Linked DNA regions of Homo sapiens: regions 1 and 2 are each linked to region 3. Evidence: promoter capture Hi-C in 16 types of primary human blood cells and fetal thymus (Javierre and others, 2016). All regions are on one chromosome and are shown on one strand. The core of a region is centred on a gene start or on the middle of the fragment in contact, and the rest is flanking DNA. Distances in the headings are between cores, read along the strand shown. Region 1 has its middle 350 kb from the start of CA8. Region 2 has its middle 370 kb from the start of CA8. Region 3 holds the start of TOX (thymocyte selection associated high mobility group box).

Region 1 (4,773 bases), core at 2,009-4,508, 820 kb after region 3:
GGCAGTGGTAGAGATTTGCCCCAGCAAGGAAAAGTATGTTATTACTGACATTGTTTAGAATTGCCAGTGCATGATGATAATAAAAAGCTGGCCGGCTTTCAGTCACTGTTATTATTGTTTATAAATTCCCTACGGACAGTTTACCCAGCACCCAGTGCAGGCTGCGTTCACCACCCCTCCCTTGGTCTCCCTCTGACATCAGGTGAGATATGCCTGTTCCCAAAAAGCATGCAGCATAGTAAGAAACCATTAAGAAGAAATAATCATAAACAGTAAGTGAAAGCCACACCATCTATTAATTATCAAAATAAATTCCAGTTGGTATAAATATTTAAATGTGTGCAATAAAATTTATTTAAAATTAAAAACAAAAATCAAATATAGAAGCTACATGTAAAGTTTTATCTTACCGGTTGTTAAGCAGACTGCTCAAAAACCTAATAGCTAATCCTAAAAATCATTCACTGTTTATACAAAACTGTTACTTAAATGAGTATCCTGTATGTTTTCTGAAAAGCCTACCAATATGGCCAATGAACATTTCATTTACCTAATTTTTCTTGGGATGGTACTCTGTATCCAGTGCGGTTCTAAGCATTGCACCAGAGGCAGACTCACCATCAAGCTTCTGCTCGCTTCATTTGCACAGGTGCCCTCCCTCCCCACGAGGCCATCGGGTATCATATGCCTTTGGAACATTTATATAAGTAAGATATTTTGGCTGCAGTTGGTTCAGACCACTGTTTCTCATCACTGACTTTCTTTCCATAATGCTGCCCCTCTGTATGGTGGTGTTGCAGTAGCTCTGGGCAATTTTGCAATTCTCCTGTGGGGAGGTTAGTTGGGAATACATTTAGTTTGCTTTTAGTAGGACATATTTTTGCAGTTTGCAGTCACTTTTGAGTATAGTTACATTCTTGTTAGCCAATTGGATGTAGGTATTTCTTCCGGGAATTCTCATGTCACTCTTTATGCTAATTCTTCCAACCAGAGTTTGTCTCATGATCCGAAAATGTCTGTGACTCTGCACACCGGAAATGTACGTGTAAAGGAGAAAAAATAAGGATAGAAATGCACAGAGCCAGAGGTTAGCATGTGAAAAATTCCTCCAAATTAGAAAACTCCCATATGAATGAAGCTTGATTGCTGTTTCCCCAAATTTGACAACAATTGTGAAAATTTACATGACTTTACCAATAACACTAATGAAGCAGAATAACTTTTCAATTTATTGAAACTAAAACAATTTTAATTAACCATGCTAGAGATTTTCATTTTCTGTTTCAATCTATTGAAAATTATATGACAAAATTATCACTTAATATTGATTAAACAGTATGCAACAAAACTTTGGGCAATTTTTTAAGACATTAAATTTTGTGGTGTTTCAGTTGTAAGCTTCTTAAAAAGTGTAACCTGGTTATAATTTTTTGTTATCATTCTAAATAAATACCAATTTTCATACCTCGTTTCATGTTTTTAAGAGGTACAGCCAAATTGTAGAAGCTCCAGGCCCCACAAAACCTGGATTTAACTCTGAAAACATTAGCAAACAAAACAGATTAAAAACCAATAAAAAAGAACTCACATAAAGTTTAAATTCTAGCATGGAAAACAGCTGATAAATAAAACATGTAAGTGAAGTAAACAATACATGGGATGGTGATAACTGCTGTGGAGAGAAAGAAGGGAGGGGTAGAGATGCAATTTTAAATAAAGCATCTCAATGAACTCCTCATTAGAAGGGAACATTTGAGCAAAGACTGAAGAGGATGAGGGAACGAGCCCTGTGGATATCTGGGGAAGAGGGAAACACACACAGGTAGAATTGCTGAGCCTGGAGCATGTCTGCCTGTGAAGGCCAGTGTGGCAGGAGCATAGTTGGAGACGATGTCAGAGAGGAGTGGGTGGATGCGGAGGAGATCATAGGGAAGGCTTGTGGGCCCCTGTCAGTACAATGGTCTTTACCAAAAGTGAGACAATTAGGGAATTTTGAACAAAGAGATATGATAAGCCAATTTAAAATGGAAAAGAATAATTCTAGCTGCCAGATTGTGGAGAGGCAAGAACAAGAAAATTAGTTAGGTAGCAATTGATTAATTCAAGAGATGCTGGTGTTTTGCCAGAGTGGTAAGATGTGCCAGTCTGGGATCCATTTTGAAGGTAATGGCGACAGGTTTGATAAATGAGGTATTGTATTCTCCTCATACAATATGAGGAGAAAAGCAGAGTCAGAAATGACAGGTTTGTCATTGGCGTGAACGATGGATAGAGTTGCCATTTACTAAGATAAGAAAGACTGCTGGAAAAGTGCGCTTTGAAGAAAGACCAATATCATTATTTCCAAGGTGTCAGTTGGACATCCAGTGAAAAATATCAACTAAGCAGTTGACTATGTGAGTCTGGAATTCAAGGGAGAGATCTAGGTTGGAGATATACATTTGTAAGTCATTGGCATATAAAATTATGAAACTAGAAGAGATCAGGAAGGGAGTAAATGTCAGGAGTGAGAAACATTCTAAGCACTGAGCATGGAATGCTTTAAGATGCTTTAAGTCTAAGAGGTCAGGAAGATGATGAGGAATCCACAAAGAAGACTGAGAAGGAGCTCCTGGTGAGGTGGGAAGGAGACCAAGAGAATATTTTTTCTGGGAAGCCTAGTATAGAAAATATCTCACATAAAGCCAAATATTGCATGTTCTCACATATAAGTAGGAGCTCAACCATGAGTACACATGGACATACAGAGTGGAATAATAGACATTGGAGACTGCAAAAGTGGAGGTGGTTGGATGGGGTTGATGGTTGAAAAATTACCTGTTGGATACAATATTTCTTATTCGCGAAATGGGTACATTAAAAGCCCAGACCTCACCAGTACACCATATATGCATGAAAGAAGCCTGCACTCGGCCAGGCACGGTGGCTCACACCTGTAATCCCAGCACTTTGGGAGGCCAAGGCGGGCGGATCACGAGGTCAGGAGATCGAGACCATCCTGGCTAACATGGTGAAACCCCGTCTCTACTAAAAATACAAAAAATTAGCCAAGCGTGGTGGCTCCTGTAGTCCCAGCTACTCGGGAGGCTGAGGCAGGAGAATAGCATGAACCCGGGAGGGGGAGTTTGCAGTGAGCCAAGATCACACCGCTGTACTCCAGCCTGGGTGATACAGCCAGACCCCTTCTCAAAAAAAAAGAAAGAAAGAAGCCTGCATTTGTACTCCCTCAAATATATAAAAATAATTTTTTTAAAAAAAGAAAGTGTTTCAAAAAGGAAGGAGACATTAACTTGTCAGAAGACGCTGACAACAGATTAAGACAAGGACTGACTGCTGACCTTTAGATTTGGCAAAATGGAAGCCACTGGTGGTCTTCCTAAAAGCAGTTTTTGTGGAATTGGGCAGTAGAAGGCCTGATTTGATTGATTTCAAAGCAGAATGGGAGGAATTAAAGAGAATGGGTACAGATTACTTATAGGGTCTTGCTGTAAATATGATCTAAGAAGTGAGGCTCTAAGTGGGTACAAAAGTGGGGCAAGGACAATATTTTTTACACAAATGATATATCAAAATGTTTGTTTGTTAATAGGAATAACCTAGTAGAGAGAGAGAAAACCTTATGATAAAAGAGAAGGAAGGAATGATTTTTACTAAAACTTAATCAGTATTATGTATCTGGCATTTATTTATTTATTTGAGTGCTTGCTATAAGGTGAAGTGCTATGTGCTTTGTTCACAAGGCAATTATATATTTCCAACAACAACTCTAGGAGCTAGATATTACTACCCTCATTTTATAAAGAAGAGCTTAGGCCGTGTTTCTGACATTACACAGACAATATGCAGCAGAGTAAAATATTTAATTTGGGTTTGTCTGATTCAAACTTGGTACCATTTCAAGTCTTCCTCATCTTTACTTTTCTGCAATAGCACAACAGGCATGTAGTAAATATTTAGTAGATATTCTGTGAATGTGTAACTGTATTAATGAATAAATAGCGAATACATATATACAGACATACATATATTCACACACAGACACACATACACCTATGCATACATACAAGATTGCAGCAGACAGGCATTTTGTGAGATAAAGAAGAAACAGGGAAGATTAGGGGTTCTTTTACTAGACTAGAAATTCCTCCCCTATGTCCTACGGAAGGTGCTAGAAGGAAGAAGTTAAAGAACGGTGGAAGTCTGGGATCCATTCCTTCGAAATCTCCCAACTGGGCGATGCTTCAACCAGTTAAAATATAAGCCTTTAGAAAAAGACTTTCAACTGCTGATACTATTTCTCAAAATCTCAGGCAAGTAAACAGGAGATTTCTTGGTTAAGGGTATATTCCTTTGGTCCCATAAGATAGGCAATGATCCATTGACACAGACTTTGTGTTATAAACAGAAAAAACAAAAACTTCGTAACAAGACAAAGCATCTTCTCCATTAATGGGAATCTCATTCCTTTCCTCTCTGCCATATATTTCTAAATAGTGTAATTTCTGAATTCACAGGTATTGCATTTAAACAAATAAACTGGGATATATTACAATTTTCAGGACATTTTCCAGTAGAATAGTAAATGGATTTAAACATTGGTGAAATGCTGACCTTCAGTTAGCTGTTCATTACATTCTGCAAACACACAGAATACCTTGTAATCCATGAGAAATTTGTGTAACTTGTAACATTTCAACATGAAAGTCACCCTCACAGTAAACACTAACCCTTTGTGAAGAAACACCATGCACCTTCTTACTTTTTATTACAAAG
Region 2 (4,404 bases), core at 1,715-4,214, 800 kb after region 3:
TAATCATTAAAATGAGTAAAATTTCCCTCCAAGGTATAGTCAATAAATAAAAAGTGAAAGGCTGATTATTGAGGCCTCAGAAACTATACCAATTTCCCAATCTAAAAAAAAGGGATGTTGCTAAGATATGCTGTGGATCTCATTTTTTTATATGTACATCTTGAGCAATGAAGCTCCCTTTAGAGTAATATGAGTGACTGTCCTCTGTGAGTTGACACTCTCTACCCAACTCCCAGCTGATTTCATTTACCTAAGTGAGTAAAATCCTAACAGCACAAAAGAGATCAGATAGAGAGTACCCTGTTAGTAGATGTTTTTTTCTTTTTGGAGTATTCGATGGTCAGAAAGCATAATCCAGGAATCCTCCAAAGCACAATGTGGTAAGCTGAAAAAGCAGTCCCTACTCAGCATCATCTGACAAATCACTGTCTGGTTCCCCCAATGACAACTGAAATGAACACAAATTATGTAAATGGGAAGAAATTAAGAAATTAGTTTTTGAAGAACAGAAAAGAAATGTAACCTGTCTGAAAGAATCTCAGCCTGAACTGCTGGGGATTTGAGGCTGTCATTTCTGGCAGGGAAAAATATCCATATTGAAAAAAATATTTGTGAAAGTAGTGGAAGGAATCAAATACTTCAATTGTTTTAAGTAGGGAAATAAACCTTCTATTCCATGTCATGGAACTGTAGGTCACAGGGCAGGAAACGCATGCAATCAGATGGCATCAGGTGGTGAATTCCTATTCACTAACTGGGCCACCTTTGATAGGTCATGTCTCCTCCACCCCGTCTCAGTTTTATCATCTGTAATGTCCTCTTTGAATTCTATTTAATACTCCATTACAAGTATAAATTGTCAAGGAAAATTTCTTTCAGTTCTTGAGAGACTAATGAAGAGGGTTCAAGTTGAGGAATTGTCCATTATCTCAAATAAAGCTCAGAAACTTTGAAGAAACCAACTGCCTTTGATCTTTCTCCCAATAATAATAAAGCCTTTACATTTTCAGGCTTCTTTTCCCATGCAATACAATGTGGAGTCTGCAAAAGAACATAGTCAGTAATCTTCAGAGTTGAGATCTGACAAGGATACTCTTGTTTCTTGAGCAAAGTGTATCCAAGCTCCTCTGAGCCCTCTTCTTGACTAGGCCTCAAGCTTGGCCTAGAAACACGTAAAAAAAGAAAAAAAAAAAGAGAAAAAGGAAAAAAGAAAAGAAAAGAAAAAACTCACTTAGGTTCTAATAGCTCAGGGCCACATCTCTGGAAGGACCCTGGTTCACTTAAATGTCTACCTAAGAAAACTCAAGGCTGCAAAAAGAATTTACAGTTTACGGCCTTACGGCCGGGCATGGTGGCTCATGCCTGTAATCTCAGCACTTTGGGAGACCGAGGCAGGCGGATCATGAGGTCAGAAGTTTGAGACCAGCCTGGCCAGCAAGATGAAACCCCATCTCTACTAAACATACAGAAAATTAGCTGGGTATGGTGGTGCATGCCTGTAGTCCTAGCTACTTGGGAGGCTGAGGCAGGAGAATTGCTTGAACCTGGCAGGTGGAGGTTGCAGTGAGCCAAGATTGCACCACTGCACTCCAGCCTGGGCAACAGAGCGAGACTCCGTCTTGAAAAAAAAAAAAAAAAAAGAATTTACAGTTTACTGTTTGTGCCAGCCCACACCTGAAGATAGGGCCTCTGTTTTCTCATCTCTTGGGAGAGCAGGAGCCAAACTTCACTAAGTGCCAGTTAATAAACCCAGATGGGTTTCACACGGAACAAGCCTCCATTCCTGCTTTTTTAACTTTTCACTTTCCTGACTCCATGGATCCCCAGCTCACCCTCCTCTCAACTGCCTTCTTCTCCCTGACAAACATCCAGTCACCTGTGTATAAATCAGAGTTGAGTTCAGTTTGTGCTGAACTCTTTTCCCTATTGCAATGAATATTTCTGATAAAAATTTGTCCTTAATCGCTTTAGCTACTGACTGGCTTTGTTTGACAGGCCTTAAATGATGCCCTCATTCTGAGGCTTTGGCAGCACTTGGTATAATTGTGGAAAGCATTTCTACTTCTTTGAGGGTAAGCCATTTTTCACAAACATAGTACAGTACCAGTTGACATCAGAAAAATGCACGGGACTTGAAGACACATTTTCTTTCCATTGGTTTCCTGTATTAATTATTTCAAGCTCATCAGTGCTCTGTGGGGCAATAGGCAATATTTCACCAAACCTAAAATCATGTAAAAATGGCTTCCTTCTGATGTTGCTTTTCCATCTCGTGAAATGGAAGTTGCAAAGGAAGATTCATCAAACTCTCATTAATGGGCACTCTGGAGCTCTGGCTATGCTGGGATAAACAGCATTGGCTCAGATAAAGTATAAACCTAGTGGCTTTCAAAATGAAAACTAATGAATCTGAGTGGGATAGTGATCAGAATAAGGAAGTAAGGCCAATAACATTTCTGGGTAACTTGCCATGAGCCAAGCACTGTCTTACAAAGTTTACATATATCTTCTCATTAATCTTTAAACATCTCTAAAGAAGAAACTAACCCTAATCTTACTTTGCAAGTTAAAAAATAAAAAAAACCAACAACTTAAATTTGAAGAGCTTGAATAATTTGCAAATGCCCATACACTGGTAAATAGCAATGAGGGATGTGGATTTGAGCCTGGGACTGTCTGACTCCAAAGCACTTCCACGTGACCAACTCATCCTACTACAGTGACACAGCACAAGACACTTATTTCCTTACCTTCTTAAAGCAACTGGAGTCTTTGATTCCTTCCAGTTTCCACAAAGGTTTTTTCAATACAGATTTTCCCTGCCAGAAATTAGTCTCAGATCCCCAACAGTTTAGTCTGAGATCCTTTCAGACAGGTCAAATTCCATTTTTTTATTCTCTAAAACACTAATTTTTTAGTTTCCTCCCATTTCAAACAATTTGTGTTCATTTTAGTTGGAGAATCTGGAGGGAGGGAGTTGTCTGACGGTACTGAGTAGGGGCAGTCATTGGGGAGGGTTTAGGGACAGGAATAGGGAGACGAAGGGTAATGTTAGGATGAAGGGGGCAGGTTAGGGGTATGGAGAAGGAAGCCTGCAGGGCTGGGCTGTGGAAGGAGGGCTAGTAATGGACCACGTTCCCAGCACAGACATTCGCAACACATTATGCAGTCACTGCTCAGGTCCCTGAGAGCTGAAGTTGCAGCATTCATTAGTGACTGGTGAACAGAGGGTGCTACAGGTATAGTTGCAGGGAAATATGGATTCTTAAATCTCCATGGGAATATTCTTGCAGAACCAAAGGAAGAGTCCATATGGGAATTGAAAGAAGATGGAGTTAGAGGACAATCTATAAAGAGGAGGAATTTCAGGGATGATGACCCAGCTCTTGTGGGTGAGGCTGTGCAATGTGAGTTTTATGATCTTTTTCACCAGGTCAGGGTATTCTTGGGGCAATGCAGACAATCTGCAATCTTAGGATTGTATTTTTGAAGGGGGTCTCTGAGACAATTGCTTTTAGGGCTGGGGCCCATCATAATGAGCCTTTCTTCTTTATATTGTCTAGTCATTCCCTAAATTAGCTGAAGTCTGTAAGTCGATTATAATGCAGCAGTTAGATTTGAATATAAATTCCACGATTGAAATGTAAGAGTGCAATCTGCTTTAATTTACACATTTCAAAAAGGTTGGTGACTCATTGGTAACAAAGATGTGAGAGGTGGGAGGAATCCTGTGGCTAAAGACCTGATCACCTCCATCAAAATTCTCTACACTAGTTGGCCTCATAGGAAGGGTACATTGACAATCTCTCTAGGACAGCATAGATATCCTTGTATGCCCCTGGTCCACGCTACTGTTCTAGTAACTGCTGAGACCCAGGGGCAGAAACACTATCTCCCCTCCTCCAAAAGAATGCTGAAGGACCTGTCTTCTTTGAGAGCCTACTGGCTGCCACAACTGCAGTATCTCCAGGGGCATGAACCTGGAATGATGAGCAACTGCAACTTTCCACTCTCCTGTTGTGCTGGGGATCTCCCTAACCTCTCCTCTGGTCTACGGAGCTGACATTAGGCTTAGATTTTATTCTACTCACACTCTGTGTGTTTGCAATCTTGATGGATGGCTCACTCATATAGAGAAAGGAACTTGCTCCTAGTTCCACTTGTAGAACTAGAAACTTCCTGGTTAATCTGTATAGCACAAGAGATAATGCATACAAAATAACTCACACAATAATCTGAAGTTATTACAATGTTTTAATTTTTATGTATTTTTTATTGTGTTATACATTGTTAATTACTATACTACTATCAGATGTGTGCATAAATATGTATACTCTATTAATCAAATATTACGTGCTAACTTTCTTAAGGGAACTATATATTCTTGTTGGGAATTGAAAGAAG
Region 3 (4,117 bases), core at 332-2,831:
GTCCAAGACTCGGAGCTGCGACTCGGTCGCGTGGTGCGGAGTCCAGGGCTGAGAAGGCAGCGCACTAAATATCTCTGTATCAGGTAAAAAAGCCGTTTGGTGATGACTCGCCACCAGGCAAATGTTGGGAGTCCCAACGATTTTTCCCGTGGAATGCACCGAGGGTCGCCATGGATGTGCCTGCAGGGGCTGTGAGTATCAGGCAGATTTATCACCAAGCGAGAGTTGGGCGTCTAAAAGGCCCGCCCAGCGTTTTAGAGAACTCAATTCTCTCTGCCAACGTTCATCCAACGGGACTGCTTAGACACGTCCAACTAGCCCTAGGCGTGGGCAGTCGTGCCCCTGCGACCACTCTGGGGGACCGGTCCCTGCGTGTCCTCCCTCTCTGGGATGAGAGAGTTCGAGAAGCCGGGAGAGTAACCCCCTCCCTCGTACCCCCTGACTGTCCTATAGGTGGACCCAGCCGAACTCCGCAGCAGCCCAGGCCAGCGCCCCACCTCCGGGTCACCGGCATGATCCGCCTCTCCCCGGGCCCCCGCGGCCCTGGCACCCGAGGTCAGCGGGCCGTGGGTACAGCTCAGCCGCGGACCCTGCTCCGCGAGTGCGGGAGCTTTGGACTTGAACGCGACGTGCTCGCCCGGCTCCCAACAAACTTGCAATTTCCGCGCGCACCCCTTAAACAGGAACTGTTCCCCAAACCTTGACCCAGCTACCCCGCTGTGCTCTGGCCCGCGGACCTGTGTCCGAACCCGGGCTCGGCTGCCGGAACCGGTTTGAGAAAACAAAAGAGTTGTGGGGCAGTTTTCCCTGTGGGGGGCAGGGGCGCCTCCCAGGTCCCTGCACCCCGACTCCCGGCTGCTCCCCTGGCAACTAATCCGGAGAAGGGAAGTGGTGCCACGAGCCCCCACTGCCCGGGGAGGGAGGGAGAGAGAAGGGGGAACTGGGAAATAAACTGAATTCTCTTACTCTGCCTCCGTTCCTGGACCCCAGACACACCCCCAAAGTATTCCACGGTTTTCTCTTATTATTTTTTTAAACGCCCCCCGGCAAACCTAGGCAGGGATCCTTAGCCGCGAACAGCAGGAAGGAAAGAATCCGAGCAAATCGTGTCACTTTCCGCACAATCGCGGTGTTTGGCAAGCCCCCGGAGCTACTCCACAATATTTACTACCCAAGCGCACGCAGGCTGCAGCGGGCTGCGAGCCGAGCGCGCCCGGGACCGGCCTCCGCCAAGCCGGCCCCGCCGCGGCCCGGCCACCGCCGCTCCCCTCCCAGGATCAAGCAGCAAGAACACGGTGGAAACAAAAGCAGAGCGTTCACCTTGTTGCAATAGTAGGGGTCCAGGCAGGGAGAAGGTCCCAGACAGGGAGCGTCGGGCGCAGCGGCGGGCTGGGCTGGAGGTGGATAAAATCTTACGTCCATTTCACTCTCACATCAAGCAACTCCTTTTCTTTTTCCTTTTTTAAAAAAAAGTGTTCAGCAAAACAAGCTTAGACGGAACAGAGTGAGGTGTCTGGGCTCAGGAGTAAAAGAAACACCTTCCTTCCCTCACATCCGTTTGTGGTTTGTTTAAGAAGAAGAGGAAAAAAAAAAAAAAGAGGGGGGAAAAGCGCTCAACTCTCCCCCAAGCCGCGGCGCGCACCCGTCGGCGCCGAGCGCGCAGCCTGCTCCACCGCCGCCTCTTGGTCCCGCCGCCGCCGCTGCCGCCGCCGCCGGGCAGGTAACTTCATGCGCTCATTGTCCCCCCCGCCCGCCCCCCCATCCCCGCCTCCCGCGCCCCTCGCAGCCCGGCACACGCGCTCGGGCTCTAGGTACTGGGCGTTTTATTGGAGATTCTGAGTTGTTCTGCTTGTAGTTTATTTTCTCCACCTTGGAGGCCCGGGATGTGGGGGGTGGGGGGGTGGGGCGGGGATCCAGAAGGGACAGGGCGGGAGGGGGGCGAGCGTCCCGGGCCGGGCGGGGTAGGGAGCGCGGCCGGACGCGGGCTCGTCAAGGCCCAATGGCTGCTGTTCGGAACCAGAGGCCGGGGACCGGAGAAAGGAGGAGCGGAGAAGGAGAAGGAGGAGAGCACGGCCTGGCTGGGACAGAAGCGGTGGGACCCTGGGAGGCCTCCGCTGTGCCCGTGCCGCGCTCCTCGGGACCAGCGCGTCGCACACAAAGGGGCTGCCGAGCCAGAGCCACCAGCGGCCTCAGGGCACCGTGGGGAGCGCGCAGCTAGGGGGCGCTGTGGCGCACCCCGCCCCGCAGCCCCGCCCCCGGCCCTCCCCGGCCCCACCCCACTCCCACCGCCCTCTCCGCGGCCGTCCCCACCCCTATCTCCGCGACCCCCACTCCTCCTCGGCTGTTCCCCAACCCTGTCACTGTGCTCCCCTCCCTACTCCCGGCCCGTAGTGGAGGTGACTTTCCTGCGCAGCGCCGCTTCTGAGGGCGGAGAACCCACAGGGAGTGCGACCCCTTTGCACGCTGTGAGTGGGCAACTGTCCGAGGGACTCGAGCCGATCGAAGGGTGAGGACCAGCTCGCCTGGGGGTGGACGGCCTGGAAAAGCCGCCCCTCTTTGGCTTCCCTCTGCCGCCTGCAGCCCGCACCCCTCCGAGATTCGTGCCCCACTGGACGGTTTGCGAAGGCTGAGGCTGCCTTGGGGACTCACAAAAGACCACAGGGGTGATTCGAAGTGTAAATAGGGAAACAATCATCAGCACACAATCCGGCTAAAGGGATAACATATGAGTTTGCTTGTTGTCCTTCATGGGATTCTTCTCTTTTTATAGCTGGACGCCCTATAGGGCTCTTGGCAGTCCACGAAAGACCTGGAGTCCGCCTCCCCATTTCTCCGGTCGGTGAGTGGCAGGAGGAAATCGCCAAACATGTTTTCCCGCTTTGCCTCCCCAACTCGGAAACTTGCAACTTGCCGTGTCCTGGAGGTTGAGACAATTTGGGGTCTCTTGGCTGCCGTCCAACAGATTTATCTCTGAGGGCAGTGTCCTTGGTGAGAGGTCCAAGTAGGTGTGGGCGACATTGTCCTCCATCTCATGAGGGAGCAGCCCTGCACACTAGGGCCCAAAACTCTGCGAAGGAGCTTGGAAGTTCTTCATCCGTTCCACTTGTTTTGCTACTCCACACACCCTTCTAGGACATGTTGATTGCCAACTGCTCTGTGCAGCTTTCCCATAGCTGTCTGTTCCCGTGCATTTCGGAGCACCAAGCAAATACGAGCAGAGAGACCTGGAAAAAAAAATGATGAAGACAGTATTAATGATAAAATTAACATGGCTGAGTGAATTGTCAATGCAAGTTCCTTTACTAACTCTTTGTTAAGTTTTGCTTTGTACTCCTTACATCCTCTTTCTCTTAAGCCATTGTTTTAATTTCTTCTCGTTATCATTTTTAAAAGTAACAGAAATACAGCTTTCTTCCTACCTTCACGATTGACTTGGTGGAGGTTGGGTTGCAAAGAGGAAGCAGTAAGAAAAAATAATTATTCTATACATTCACAAGTCCTTCAAGGCACAAAATAAAAGTAAGAAATAGAAAATATGTCCTTTCTCCTAATAAAGGTCTTTATAATAAAATTTAAATGAAGTTTTGTGTTTCATAACAGCTTCCCAAATACTGTTGTAGATACTAAAATGTGCCTGTATGTATTTCCTTCCACAATAATAATAGTAATAATAAACTTTTTTAGGTCCAAATTAAACATTTCTCAGCTTAAATTTCTATCCTCAATCCAACATTTATTATATCAAAACTTGATTTTTAAAAATAAAACTTTCTTGGAATTCATCATTGATGTCTGTTTGATGGCCTCGTGAACATCAGGAAGATGAAATGAAATGGTTCAAGACTGGAACAATACCATTATCTGCATCTTGACTCCTGGGAGATAATGATATCTCCTGCTTTCCTCTACAGACCTACCAGTTTTCTCTGCTTTAAGGGAAAATCCAAATGCATGAGACCTGTGCATTCTTCTACATAATCAAGAGTCTGGTTTCTTCCATCGGAGTGTATGGAGTTAAAGTGGTATACTGTACATGGCATGGTGTGATAGGTGGGAATATGAGCTACTGGGGGAAAAAGTTCTTACTTCTAGCCACTTATACAAAGAGAGGCCATCT

What was found. Contacts are between HindIII fragments. The CHiCAGO score rates a contact against its expected background, and 5 or more counts as called.
Region 1: a fragment that was not itself captured here is called in contact with the fragment with the promoter of TOX in region 3 in 1 of 17 cell types (M2 macrophages); the score reaches 5.2 in M2 macrophages.
Region 2: a contact is called between a fragment that was not itself captured here and the fragment with the promoter of TOX in region 3, in 1 of 17 cell types (M2 macrophages). The highest score is 6.6, in M2 macrophages.

The regions. Positions count from the first base shown.
Region 1 is chr8:59,932,571-59,937,343 of GRCh38, forward strand. No RefSeq gene overlaps it. Among named protein-coding and RNA genes, the nearest start is that of CA8, 350 kb to the right of the region's middle. The HindIII fragment of the contact is 3,724 bases long and covers 1,397-4,773 here.
Region 2 is chr8:59,913,697-59,918,100 of GRCh38, forward strand. No RefSeq gene overlaps it. Among named protein-coding and RNA genes, the nearest start is that of CA8, 370 kb to the right of the region's middle. The HindIII fragment of the contact is 3,620 bases long and covers 1,155-4,404 here.
Region 3 is chr8:59,117,566-59,121,682 of GRCh38, forward strand. It overlaps TOX (thymocyte selection associated high mobility group box), which reads right to left and starts at 1,582. Exons shown (of 9, transcript NM_014729.3): 1 at 1,321-1,582. The coding sequence starts at 1,422. It overlaps TOX-DT (TOX divergent transcript), which reads left to right and starts at 1,645. Exons shown (of 3, transcript NR_149031.1): 1 at 1,645-1,720; 2 at 2,392-2,506; 3 at 2,771-4,117. RefSeq lists a silencer at 2,107-2,326. The HindIII fragment of the contact is 5,602 bases long and covers 1,488-4,117 here.